Linked DNA regions of Homo sapiens: region 2 is linked to region 1. The links are contacts of gene promoters, found by promoter capture Hi-C in blood cells and fetal thymus (Javierre and others, 2016). All regions are on one chromosome and are shown on one strand. Each heading gives the region's core, a stretch centred on a gene start or on the middle of the fragment in contact. The rest is flanking DNA. Distances are from core to core; before and after follow the strand shown.

What was found. The method cuts DNA at HindIII sites, captures the fragments that hold promoters and counts their contacts. A CHiCAGO score of 5 or more calls a contact.
Region 2: a fragment that was not itself captured here is called in contact with the fragment with the promoter of CACNB2-AS2 in region 1 in 1 of 17 cell types (M1 macrophages); the score reaches 5.0 in M1 macrophages.

What each region holds. Positions count from the first base shown.
Region 1 is chr10:18,257,861-18,263,606 of GRCh38, reverse strand. It overlaps CACNB2-AS2 (CACNB2 antisense RNA 2), which reads left to right and starts at 2,103. Exons shown (of 2, transcript XR_001747681.2): 1 at 2,103-2,441. All of the region lies in intron 2 of CACNB2 (calcium voltage-gated channel auxiliary subunit beta 2), which reads right to left. The HindIII fragment of the contact is 4,399 bases long and covers 1-4,135 here.
Region 2 is chr10:17,593,290-17,599,035 of GRCh38, reverse strand. HACD1 (3-hydroxyacyl-CoA dehydratase 1) reads left to right here. Exons shown (of 7, transcript NM_014241.4): 6 at 4,653-4,831. Among named protein-coding and RNA genes, the nearest start is that of HACD1, 21 kb to the left of the region's middle. The HindIII fragment of the contact is 2,967 bases long and covers 1-2,885 here.

The DNA.
Region 1 (5,746 bases), core at 854-3,353:
ATACTAAAAAGAAAAGGTATAAGAACTAGTGAAAGATTAAGACACATGCACACACAGGTGCATATTTATCAATTGATTTATATTACATCTAAAATATATTATTTATGTAATTAGATCTAACAGATATATGCATACATGTATGTATATAAATATTGACATTTAGTTCCAGTATTACCAGAATTGTGATTCCTGGAAACTGACAACAGATTTGAGAAAGGACACCAGGACAGCCCAACCAGTATGACGAGGTCCTAACCACCAGTACCACATAGGGGTCTGGCTGCCCTTTGTATTCAATGAGCAGCCTCTAGACTCATCTGCTTTGCGGTCAAATCTAAAGTCTCCGTTACAGATAGATGCACAGTGGGTTCTTTTCCTTCAAGGAAAAAAATAGGTTTCGATTTAACCTATCTTCCACTCTGGGTTGGCCATCTGTAAAGAAAACTGCAATCCATAAAGTGTCAAAGAAGAGAGGTTAAAACAGCAGCAGGTGGGTTAGAGGTAAGGCTTCCCAAGAGAAAAACACTCTAAAGTAAACGAAAATTTATTTCTAGTGACCAAGGGTATGCATTTCTTTTATCTTTAAAAGACATCTGTGCTCTATATTTTGTGGTACTTTATTCAAAATACAGGGTAAAAATATTTGAGAATGAGCAGATGAACCAAGTCTCTGTAGCTTTCAATCAAGACTTCAAAAATCCAGATTATGTTGTCTCTTCTTTCTATTTATTTACATGTTCAATGTAAGAAGAAGAACTAAAATAAGTAGGGTAAAAATTTGTTGCTTTGTTGGAGGCCTTATTTCAGAATTTTTGTATTCAATAGGCACACATAACCATGGATTTCTTCTAATTCATTATACAAGAATAAACAGAAACACAGAAAGCTAAGAAATTCTCACTCTTCACTATTCTAGAAACTATGGATTTTTAAATTAAAATTATTTTTGTTTTTAACTTAAGGTTTTCTTTAGGCGGCTAATCTTATACTCTAAAAAGTTTGTAACACTTATTCCCAAATCTTATTTAAAAAGCAATTAATTTTTTGACTGGATAAAAACCATCTATCCCTGCAGATGTCGTCTTTAGAAATCTTGGCTGGCTACCTGACTCCTCCATTGATTTCTGATATGTCAACTGTTGCATTCAAAAGACAAATGGCACCAAATATGTAACAACTGCAAAAACCTTTAAATAAAAGGGGTTTTTCATGCTTTTACTTATTTAATAAAATTGAATACTCTCTTTAAGGTTTGACAGTATAGTTATCTCTCCCTGCCCTCCCACCCCACCCCGTCACCATTTCCAACTTTATTATTGAGATCATATCAGATTTTGACCTTGTTTGTCCTGTAAGTCTCACATATATCTCTTTTCTGTGGCCAATTTTCCAAGGTCACGGGTTTCTTTACCTTCAATACTTTAAGTATTGATTAGCTTGCTTTGTCAATTTTCTATTTGTTTTGCAGTCAGGAATGTCAAACCAGTGTTAAGCAATTCAGCACTGCAGTTTGCCCAGCCTGCATAAACCTCCTGTTCCCTTTTACAACCCTTCCTGAAAATAGAGTAGCTGCTCGCAAAAGGAGTATGAAAATCAAGCCAGCGCTTGCTCGGAGCTGGTCGGCTAGTGTAAGGCACAGCATATTGCAATTAGCATCCAATCATGTTAAGTAGTGATACACTTCAATATTTGTGTGAGCCTGCCTTGTAGAATTTAATACTCAGACAGCCATTTTGCAAAACACAGCAGGGCCATGAAATAAGGGCTATTTCAGTGAAAGAGTCACAGGATGATAAAGCTGTTGCAACAGCTGTGTCATCCATCCAGTGATTATTATCTACTATTTTTCTGAAGCTGCTCAAAATAGGATTTAGTGTTAGCCTCTGCGCCTATCTATAATTTGTCAAACTCCGTGGTATTTCTTCCCCCCACCATCCCATCATTCAAATATGAAAACAGGACTACTCTAGGTAAAAGAGAGTATCAACTGGTTTGAATGAGGCAGATCTCTGAGACAATGGACTTCTCAAACCAATCCCCGCGCAAGTTATTTCCAACCTTATCAAAGTCACAAGGCACAAAAGACAGATAAAAACATCTCTGGGAAAAAATAAATATCTCAGAATCTCCTATACCTCAGATTCCTTGAAAACTCATGGTACGAAATGATCGACTGTCTGGTTGGTTCAGCACAGGGAATAAAAACAGCTGAAAGAGGCAACATGCACCAGACAGACACGAATAGTATTTTCAGCTCCCAGCTGCAATTCTACAGCAATAGAAACTTACATAGGACACCCGTACTCGCCGGCGATGCACCAGCCCGCAGCACTGCATGAAGAGGGGGCAGAACGCAGTCAGCGTGTGGCTTCACCAAGCTGCACTGTGCCTTGTCTTCTCGTCACAGCCTCGGTCCATTTCTTCCCACCTTCTACTCCCAGGTAAGAGGCATGAGCAAATCACTTAGCTTCTGCCTCCTAGGTAGTTTCTAAAAAAGCCACCGTTCCTGCAGGCATGCCAAAACTTTGTTCTCCCCTGTTTGTCTTTTTTTGGGGGTGGGGGGCGTAATTTGAGATCTTCTTCAAGGGGGTTTCCTATTTGCAAAAATCTACAAGAAGTAGCATTAATTTTCCGGAAGTAAGTATTGCTAACACAGAGTTAGGACTGTCCAGATCGTCAGAGTTTCTTGGTGACGCTTTTACAGTAGCCATTCTCAACTCGGGAGATTTTCAAACATCTGAGTGTCTTGCATTTCGCGACCCTGCAGTACTCTGCTTTTGAAAAGCAGGAGGCCTACTCCTGCTGCTGTTTATGTGACTGCTTCTTAGCACGCTGCTGTTCCTGCTCCCGCGGCTGCTCGCCTATGATTGCCTTCTTCACAATGCACAGGCTGACAGCAGCATCCTGGATTCACTGTTACCTCTGTAACGTTTTGGGCATATCTGATTTGCTACTTCTCCCTCCTCCCCTGACCCTGAAAAATGACTGAGTCTAGACTCGAATTCACTGTGGATTCCTAGGACTACAGAAACATCCTCCAAACCGTCAGATGCTTTGTCCTGCAGTAGGTATTTCACATGAATTGTAAGGAGGATCGCCAGAGTGGCCTCAGGACCTGACTCGCTCAAGCACTGCGGCGCACAGTTGTTTGGTGCTCGCTGGCAAATGTTCATTTTCTGGGTTAAAGCATGTTAAATAAACATAACTCTGGAAGGCGAATTTGATCCGACTCAGACCTCATTAATTCATTAGATCTCATACCACCTATGATTTAGATATAATAAACTACATAAGGCTGCCTTCCAAGTGTGAGAGCTCCCAAGTCAATATTCTTTGTAAGCTATTATTTAGATCTTTCCCTAAAGACCCAGTTTTCAGGGACTGAGCTGATCCTAATATTCTCCCTAAAGACCATGTAAATGTCACACCTAAAAAGATGAATCATTAAGACATGTGGAGATTCAGCTGTTCATTGGTATGATATCAGCCATTCTAATACGCAATATCTTTAGTGTGTCACAGATATTGATCCAAATTTGCACCCATGCCCAAGTCATTCCATATTCTGTTGAGACCTAAGAAGGTATGTTAATGATTTCATGTCACAGATTAACCACCACTACATCCTTTAGGCTCCTGGAAAAATAAAAGACAATTAATTCTCAACACTTTACCAGTATTTTCTCAAGGCTTTTTTGAGATAGGGTCTTACTCTACTGCCCAAGCTGAAGTGCAGTGGTGCAATCATGGCTCACTGCAGCCTTGAACTCTTGATTGCCTTGCTCAGGCAGTCCTCCCACCTCCGACTCCCAAGTAGCTAGAATTGTAGGTGCATGCCACCACACCTGCTTAATTTTTTTTTTTTTTTTTTTTTCTGAGACAGAGTCTCACTCTGTCACCCAGACTGGAGTGCAGTGGCACAACCTCAGCTCACTGCAACCTCCACCTCCAGGGCTCAAGCAATTCTCCTGCCTCAGACTCCTGAGTAGCTGGGACTACAGGTGTGCACCACCATGCCTGGCTACTTTTACTTTTTTTTTTTGTTTGTTTTTTGTTTTTTTTTCAGTAGAGATGGAGTTTCACCATGTTGGCCAGGCTGGTCTTGAACTCTTGGACTCAAGTGATCTGCCAAGCTTGGCCTCCCAAAGTGTTGAGATTACAGGTGTAAGCCACAGTGCCCAGCCTAATTTTAAAAATTTTTTTATAGAGACAGGGGTCTCACTTTGTTGCCCAGGCTGGTCTCAAACTCCTGGCTCCAGGCCATTCTCCTGCCCCAGCCTCCCAAAGTGCTAGGATTACAAGTGTGAGTCACCATGCCTGGCCTTTAAAGTCTATGATTTAAAGCAACACTTTTATATTATTATTAATAGTCTAAGAGGTTGATAGAGGTGACAAAAAAATTCTGCCTTAATCTCCTTATTTAACTGACAAACTGGGTCCCAAAATGATTCCATGTTTTGTTTATCAGTAATATAAGCAATAGCATAATTTAAACTCTGAAACTTATATAATCTACATAGTCTGTGAAAATTCTATGGTCCTATCATATACTAGTTAAACCTTTGTGGATTTGAAGGTCCAAAAGGAAAATAACATAGTCTATAGACAGAAAATAAGGACACTTTAGTGATTAAATCAGAAACCTAGAGTAAAACAAAATTTCTGAATTACACTGTAAATTGGCTCTTGAAGTACATCCTGGAAAAAAAAAAAAATCCCTCACCATTTTCTGAACCATACATGATATATTCCAAGTAGGTAGGACTTCAATTTGATTTTTTAAAGAAACTTCAGTGAGAGGAACACTAAGTAATATAAAAGAACACATAATTCAAATTCAAGTTTTTTTTTGTTTTTTGTTTGCTTGTTTGTTTGTTTTTGACACAGAGTTTCGCTCTTGTCACCCAGGCTCGAGTGCAGTGGCATGATCTCAGCTCACTGCAACCTCCACCTCCTGGGTTCAAGTGATTCTCCTTCCTCAGGCTCCTGAGTAGCTGGGATTACAGGTGCCCGCTACCAGCCTGGCTAAATTTTTGTATTTTTAGTAGAGATGGGGTTTCACCACGGTAGGAAGTCTGGTCTTAAACTCCAGTCCTCGTGATCCGCCCGCCTCGGCCTCCCAAAGTGCTGGGATTACAGGCGTGAGCCACCGTGCCCGGCCTCAAGTTTTTTCTTAAGGCCCCTTCATCACCTCTATCACCACATTTTTACTAGAATAACTGAATAAAGAATAAAAATTTAGCTTAAAGTTAGAATAAGATGAAAACACTGGGGAAATGATCTATCCCCTCTATGATTCTGAATTTGATTTGGAATTCACTTAACATTTTATTAACTATGATATTTTTATACACAATATGAGAGAGATTCCCCCATTCATTAGATATTCCACCCACCTTGTCATTCAAGAATCCACAAAAGGATTCCAAGCACTAACTAATTTGATTCGGCAAACATTTATAGAGCACCTTCTGTTTGCTCAGTGCTGTGCTAAGGTGCTGGGGATATGAAATGAATAAAATACAATCCATGTATTCCTCTAGGCACGTATAAGAACTGAGGAGGCTGGGCGGGGTGGCTCACGCCTATAATCCCAGCACTTTGGGAGGCCCAGGTGGGCAGATCACCTGAGGTCAGAAGTTTGAGACCAGCCTGACCAACATGACGAAACCTCGTCTCTACTAAAAATACAAAAATCTGCTGGGCAGGGTGGCACATGTCTGTAATCCCAGCTACTCGGGAGGCT
Region 2 (5,746 bases), core at 153-2,652, 660 kb after region 1:
TTAGTCATTCATTTTTTTTTGGAAAGCACAATATACATTTTTGGAATTAGCTTACATAAGCAGTACCAAAAATATGTTTTTTTTTTGTCTGTGATGTAAATTATTTTAATAGTCAATCTAGCAGCCACAATTTATACCATTTACACAATGCGATTGGTTTTTTTCTTTGCTTTAAGTTGCAGAGACATTTTTAAAAGTCACACTTACTTAAAATTGTATTATTTGGAATGTGGATAAAATTTATATTTGAAGGGCTCCAAATATATCCTAAAGCAACAGTTTTTAAAGGAAAAGATATCTGTTCTTCTTGAAGTTTGAATTCTTTGAGCAATTGACGTTTTAGAAAGTTATTATAAAAGCAAAACTGCTCTTTGGAGAACAAGTCACAAATCAGTATAGACTTGTTCATTTTATTCTTTGTATTGTACTTTATGGTAGCAATAACAATGACAAATGGTGTGTGCCTACTGCATGCCTGAGATGTAGGTATGAACAAAACAAATTCTCTGTCTTATGATGAAGACAAAACATAAACTAATAATATGTGATATGTCAGGTGGTGATAAATGCTGGGATTATAGGTGTGAGCCACCATGCCTGGTCAATTACTATTTTTTAATCCCAAGTATTATACATGTTCAAATATAATAAATGAGAATATATAAACCAAAAAGAAGGAAAACCACTTTTAAATTACTTATAATCTCTCTAACCAAGGATAACCACTGTTAATTGTGTTTTATGGGTTTTTTTCTCTTTTTTTTTTTTTTTTTTTTGAGACAGGGTCTCATTCTGTCACCCAGGCTGGAGGATAGTGGCACGATCTCGGCTCACTTCAATATCCACCACCTGGGCTCAAGCGATTCTCCTGCCTCAGCCTCCCAAGTAGCTGGGAGTACAGGTGCAGGCCACCACACCTGGCTAATTTTTGTATTTTTTGTAGAGATGGGGTTTTACCATGTTGCCCAGGCTGGTCTCGAACACCTGAGCTCAAGTGATCCACCCACCTCGGCCTCCCTAAGTGCTAGGATTACAGGTGTGAGCCACTGCGCCTGGCCATGTTATATACTCTTTGTGACTTTTTAATATTCTCTAGCTCTTTTTTAGACACTTGCGGCTTACCACTTTGTATATGATGAGATACTTTGAAATTATAATTTGAGCTTAAGTGTCTTGTCTGTCATAAGAAGGTTGTACTACCATTTATATGGATTTGGTTGGTTTTAATCTTACTGTACATGAAAATGTGTTTACCTTTAGTGACTGAGCTTTTTAAAGGTTGGCAGTTTTGAATGTAGCTGGACTCTAATCCTAGAACACATCAATATCATTTCGCATGACAATGTTCTGGACCTCTGGCACCTTTGAAAATACTAACTTACCATATAGTCTCTTTTCATGTGCTGAATTTACAAAATTTGTCTGAAGAGGATAGCAGAATGTACATTGCATATTTTCCTGAGGTTGGCACATTAGACTTGATGGCTTTGTGTGTCTGTCTTTTGGAATGCATTTGCATGTCTTGAGTGTCTGGAAAAGATAAAAACTCTGCCATCGTATGTTTAAATTTGCTGTTTAGAAAGTGTTTATCCATTGCAGGCTGGGCGTGGTGGCTCATGCCTGTAATCCCAACACTTTGGGAGGCCAAGGTGGGCGGATCACTTGAGGTCAGGAGTTCCAGATCAGCCTGGCCAACATGGTGAAACCCCATCTCTACTAAAAAATTAAAAAATTAGCCACATGTGCCTGTAATCCCAGCTACTTGGGAGGCCGAGGCAGGAGAATTGCTTGAACTAGGAGGTGGAGGTTGCAGTGATCTGAGATCACACCACTGCACTCCAGCTTGGTGACACAGCGTGACTCTGTCTCAAAAGAAGAAAGTGTTTATCCATTGCCTTAATGTTAAACAAGTTATACAGTCTTTCAGCTTTGAAATCATATGTTACATAATACTTTGTCAGTTGATCATAATCATAAATAATTATGTTTCATGTCAAAAAGATCTTAAAAATCCCAGCCATCTAAATATGTTTCCCAACTCCATTAAGTAAGGTAAAATAATATTTGTATTTATGTTCAGATGTTGAAGCTGTCATTCTCGAATAAAACTACACTTTAGAAATGGCTTCTTAGTTATAAGTAGTTTGGCCTATTGTTACAGTTTGAATATACTTTGATTCTATTTATGTGTCATAAGTGTTCTTGGAAAAGTCCTCAGAATAGGTAATTGTATATATTAAGTTAGGTTTTTCATATTGATTTAAAATGCACTCCCTTCAAAAAAATTTTAGATAGTAATTGGGAACCTTCAAAGAAGCATTGTATCTTTTTTTTTAATGTGGTCTATCCATAGTTAAATCTCCCATACTGCCCTCAGAACTTAGAGAAGTAGTAACATGCAATCTTTTTGAAGTGCAAGTAAAGTCAAATTATATAATTTGTTCCCATTTCATTAGAAATTTTCATTGCCCTTAAGACTTTCAACTAGCTTATTGTAGGAGTGTTAATTTTTTCTTCTATTGAAGAACAATCCTGCCAAAAAAAAAAAAAATCTTTTGAAAACCACATAAAGTAAAAATTGCAACTTAATCAGTTTGGGTATTTTACTGAGACAGGTATATAAAATGTCCAGTTATGGGATTTAATAAATTGAGGAATAGGGAAAGATTGATTTAAATGATACACAAATAACTACCCAAAACTGGTAAGAAAGCAGGGAGTTTCTCCAAGGCCAAGAAGGGATTAACAGGTACAGTGAAGGAATCATTCTTCTTTCTTGAATAGCTCATCTATTTTGGCAAATAATTCTGCCCTTCTCCCCATCTCTTATCTTCGCATATCCTTGACATACAGGAATAATGCAATTTTTAATTTGTCTCCAAGCTTCTTCAATACTGACAACTTTGACTTTTCTTTATAGATATTTCCTAATGCCAACAAAATGATTAAATAAAATACAGATTAATTTGATTTCTTTTTCCATCAAAATGTTGACCTTTTGTTTTAAATTAAAAACATTTTTCTTTTTTTAAATTAAATTTATTTTTTTTGAGACAGGGTCTCGCTGTGTCACCCAGGCTGGAGTACAGTGGTGCGGTCTTGGCTCACTGCCCCCTTGACCTCCTAGGCTCAAGCAATCCTCCTGCCTTAGCCTCCCAAGTAGCTGGGGCGACAGGCATGCACCACTGTGGTCTGCTCATTAAATTTTTTTTTGTGAGACGGGGTCTTACTATATCGCCCAGAGTGGTCTTGCACTCTGGCCTCTTAAGTTTTCTGTGGTAACTGTTATATAGTGACTGAGTCAGAGAAAAATGATTTTTTTTTTTAATGAAGAAATATGATCATCTTGGATCCTTTAGGCCCCTCTTATTGGAGACCAGCCAGTAGAACACAGAGTGTTTCCTAATTGGAAGCATACAGGATGCCTGGCCTACTGTGTGTTCCAGACCTTGCCACAGACCAAATGAACACATGATGACTTTGGATTTAGAGTAGAACTTTCTTAACTCTACTTTAAACAAGCTCACTCTTCTTTTAATGTGGGAATTCAGGAACTAACTTGTCAATTTATTTTGTTACGGTAGCAGTTTTAGACAATATAATATACTCATTAGTAGCTACTCATGCTTCAGGTGGTATTATCAGTTTTCTGCAATAATTGGTTTTCATTAGTAACCACAAAGACTTTTTCAAATGCCTCTTAAAAATAACTACCTTGGTAATTTCAAGGTTTAGATATAAAATTTAGGATAATCACTGGTCTTTTTAAACGCAGTGTTTGATCAATAAATTACTAGCTGCCGCGGACAAAAGCAGTCATTTGTGATTTTATGCACCAAAGAAGTTACCATTACAATACTTTTTTTAAAGCTACATAGGCCGGGCATGGTGGCTCATGTCTGTAATCCCAGCACTTTGGGAGGCTGAGGCGGGTGGATCACCTGAAGGCAGGAGTTCAAGACCAGCCTGACCAACATGGTGAAACCCTGTCTCTACTAAAAATACAAAAATTAACCGGGCGTGGTGGCGGGCGCCTGTAGTCCCAGCTACCCAGGAGGCTGAGGCAGGAGAATTGCTTGAACCCGGGAGGTGGAGGTTGCAGTGACCCAAGATTGTGCCACTGCACTCCAGTCTAGGCGACAGAGTAAGACTCCATCTCAAAAAAAAACAAAAAACAAAAAAAAAAAACACCAAAAATTAGCTGGGTATGGTGGCACACACCTGTAATCCCAGCTACTTGGGAGGCTGAGGCAGGAGAATTACTTGAACCCAGGAGGTGGAGGTTGCAGTGAGCCAAGACTGTGCCGCTGCACTCCAGCCTGGTGACAAGAGCGAACTCCATCTCAAAACAAAAACAAGAAAAACTACATATACATTTTTTAATACATAAAAGTATTTTGGTACTCTAAAATAAGTTGATACTATTTTATTAAAAAGACATTGCCTATTATGGAAACTGGTATTAGGAAAAAAAGGATGATAATCAATAAGCAAATGATTAAAGTAGAACTATTAACCTTACGTAAGGTTATTGTAAATATGTAAAGAAAAGAGAATTTTGAAGTTTAAATTTAGTAGTAGCAATAGACCTGCAATGTAAAGTCTAATAATTATTGTAGAAAAATAATTCTCTGAGGTTTTTCTTTCTCCAGATATAATTTTTTTATCATCTTATATCCTGTTGGAGTTGCTGGTGAACTTCTTACAATATACGCTGCCTTGCCGCATGTGAAGAAAACAGGAATGTTTTCAATAAGACTTCCTAACAAATACAATGTCTCTTTTGACTACTATTATTTTCTTCTTATAACCATGGCATCATATATACCTTGTAAGTATATACTTATTAGTACTTTGATTTGACATATGATGTGGAAATTTTTGAAAGGATATAATAATATGCAAGGGGAAATAATTAGAAATAATTGCTTACAAATACATTAAAACTTCGGTTTAACTCCATATTTACTGATAATTTGGGAAAAGTGAAGGGAGATAGAGGCAGAAGACAGTTCATTAGCTATGAGAATAAAGGCAGGTAAATTAACGCATGGATTATTGCTTTCTCAAAATCATTTAAACATCAGCTTAGTATGATTTTTTTAAAGAAAGATAAAAACAAATCATGTTTAAAGCATTAGTGCACTTTTTACAAGCATTTAGAATTATATGTCTGAGTATAAACACTGTGTCCAAGAAAATTTCAGATCATTTCTATCTATTCATTAAGCATATACTTGGAAAAATCATCTAGGAGTAGTTTTGAGTCTTATTTGTGTTGCTCTATGTACTTGCAAATAATAAAGCCTCTTTTCTTAAAGGATTTTGAATAAGTCAGCCTCTTCACTAATTTCTCATCATCTTTCAGCAGTTGAAGTGAATTGGTAAGGCTTTACTCCATTTCAGTGCTGCTAATAGTGAGGCAGGGCTCCGTGGCTCATGCCTATAATCCCAGCACTTTGGGAGGCCGAGGCAGGTGGATCACCTGAGGTCAGGAGTTCGAGACCAGGCTGGCCAACATGGCAAAACCCTGTCTCTACTAAAATACAGAAATTAACTGGGCATGGTGGCGCATGCCTGTAATCTCAGCTACTCAGGAGGCTGAGGCAGGAGAATCGTTTGAACCTGAGAGGCAGAAGTTGCAGTGAACTGACATGATGCCATTGCATTCCAGCCTGGGCAATAAGAGTGAGACTCTGTCTCAAAAAAAAAAAGGCGTGGGGGCTAATAGTGATATATTTTTAAG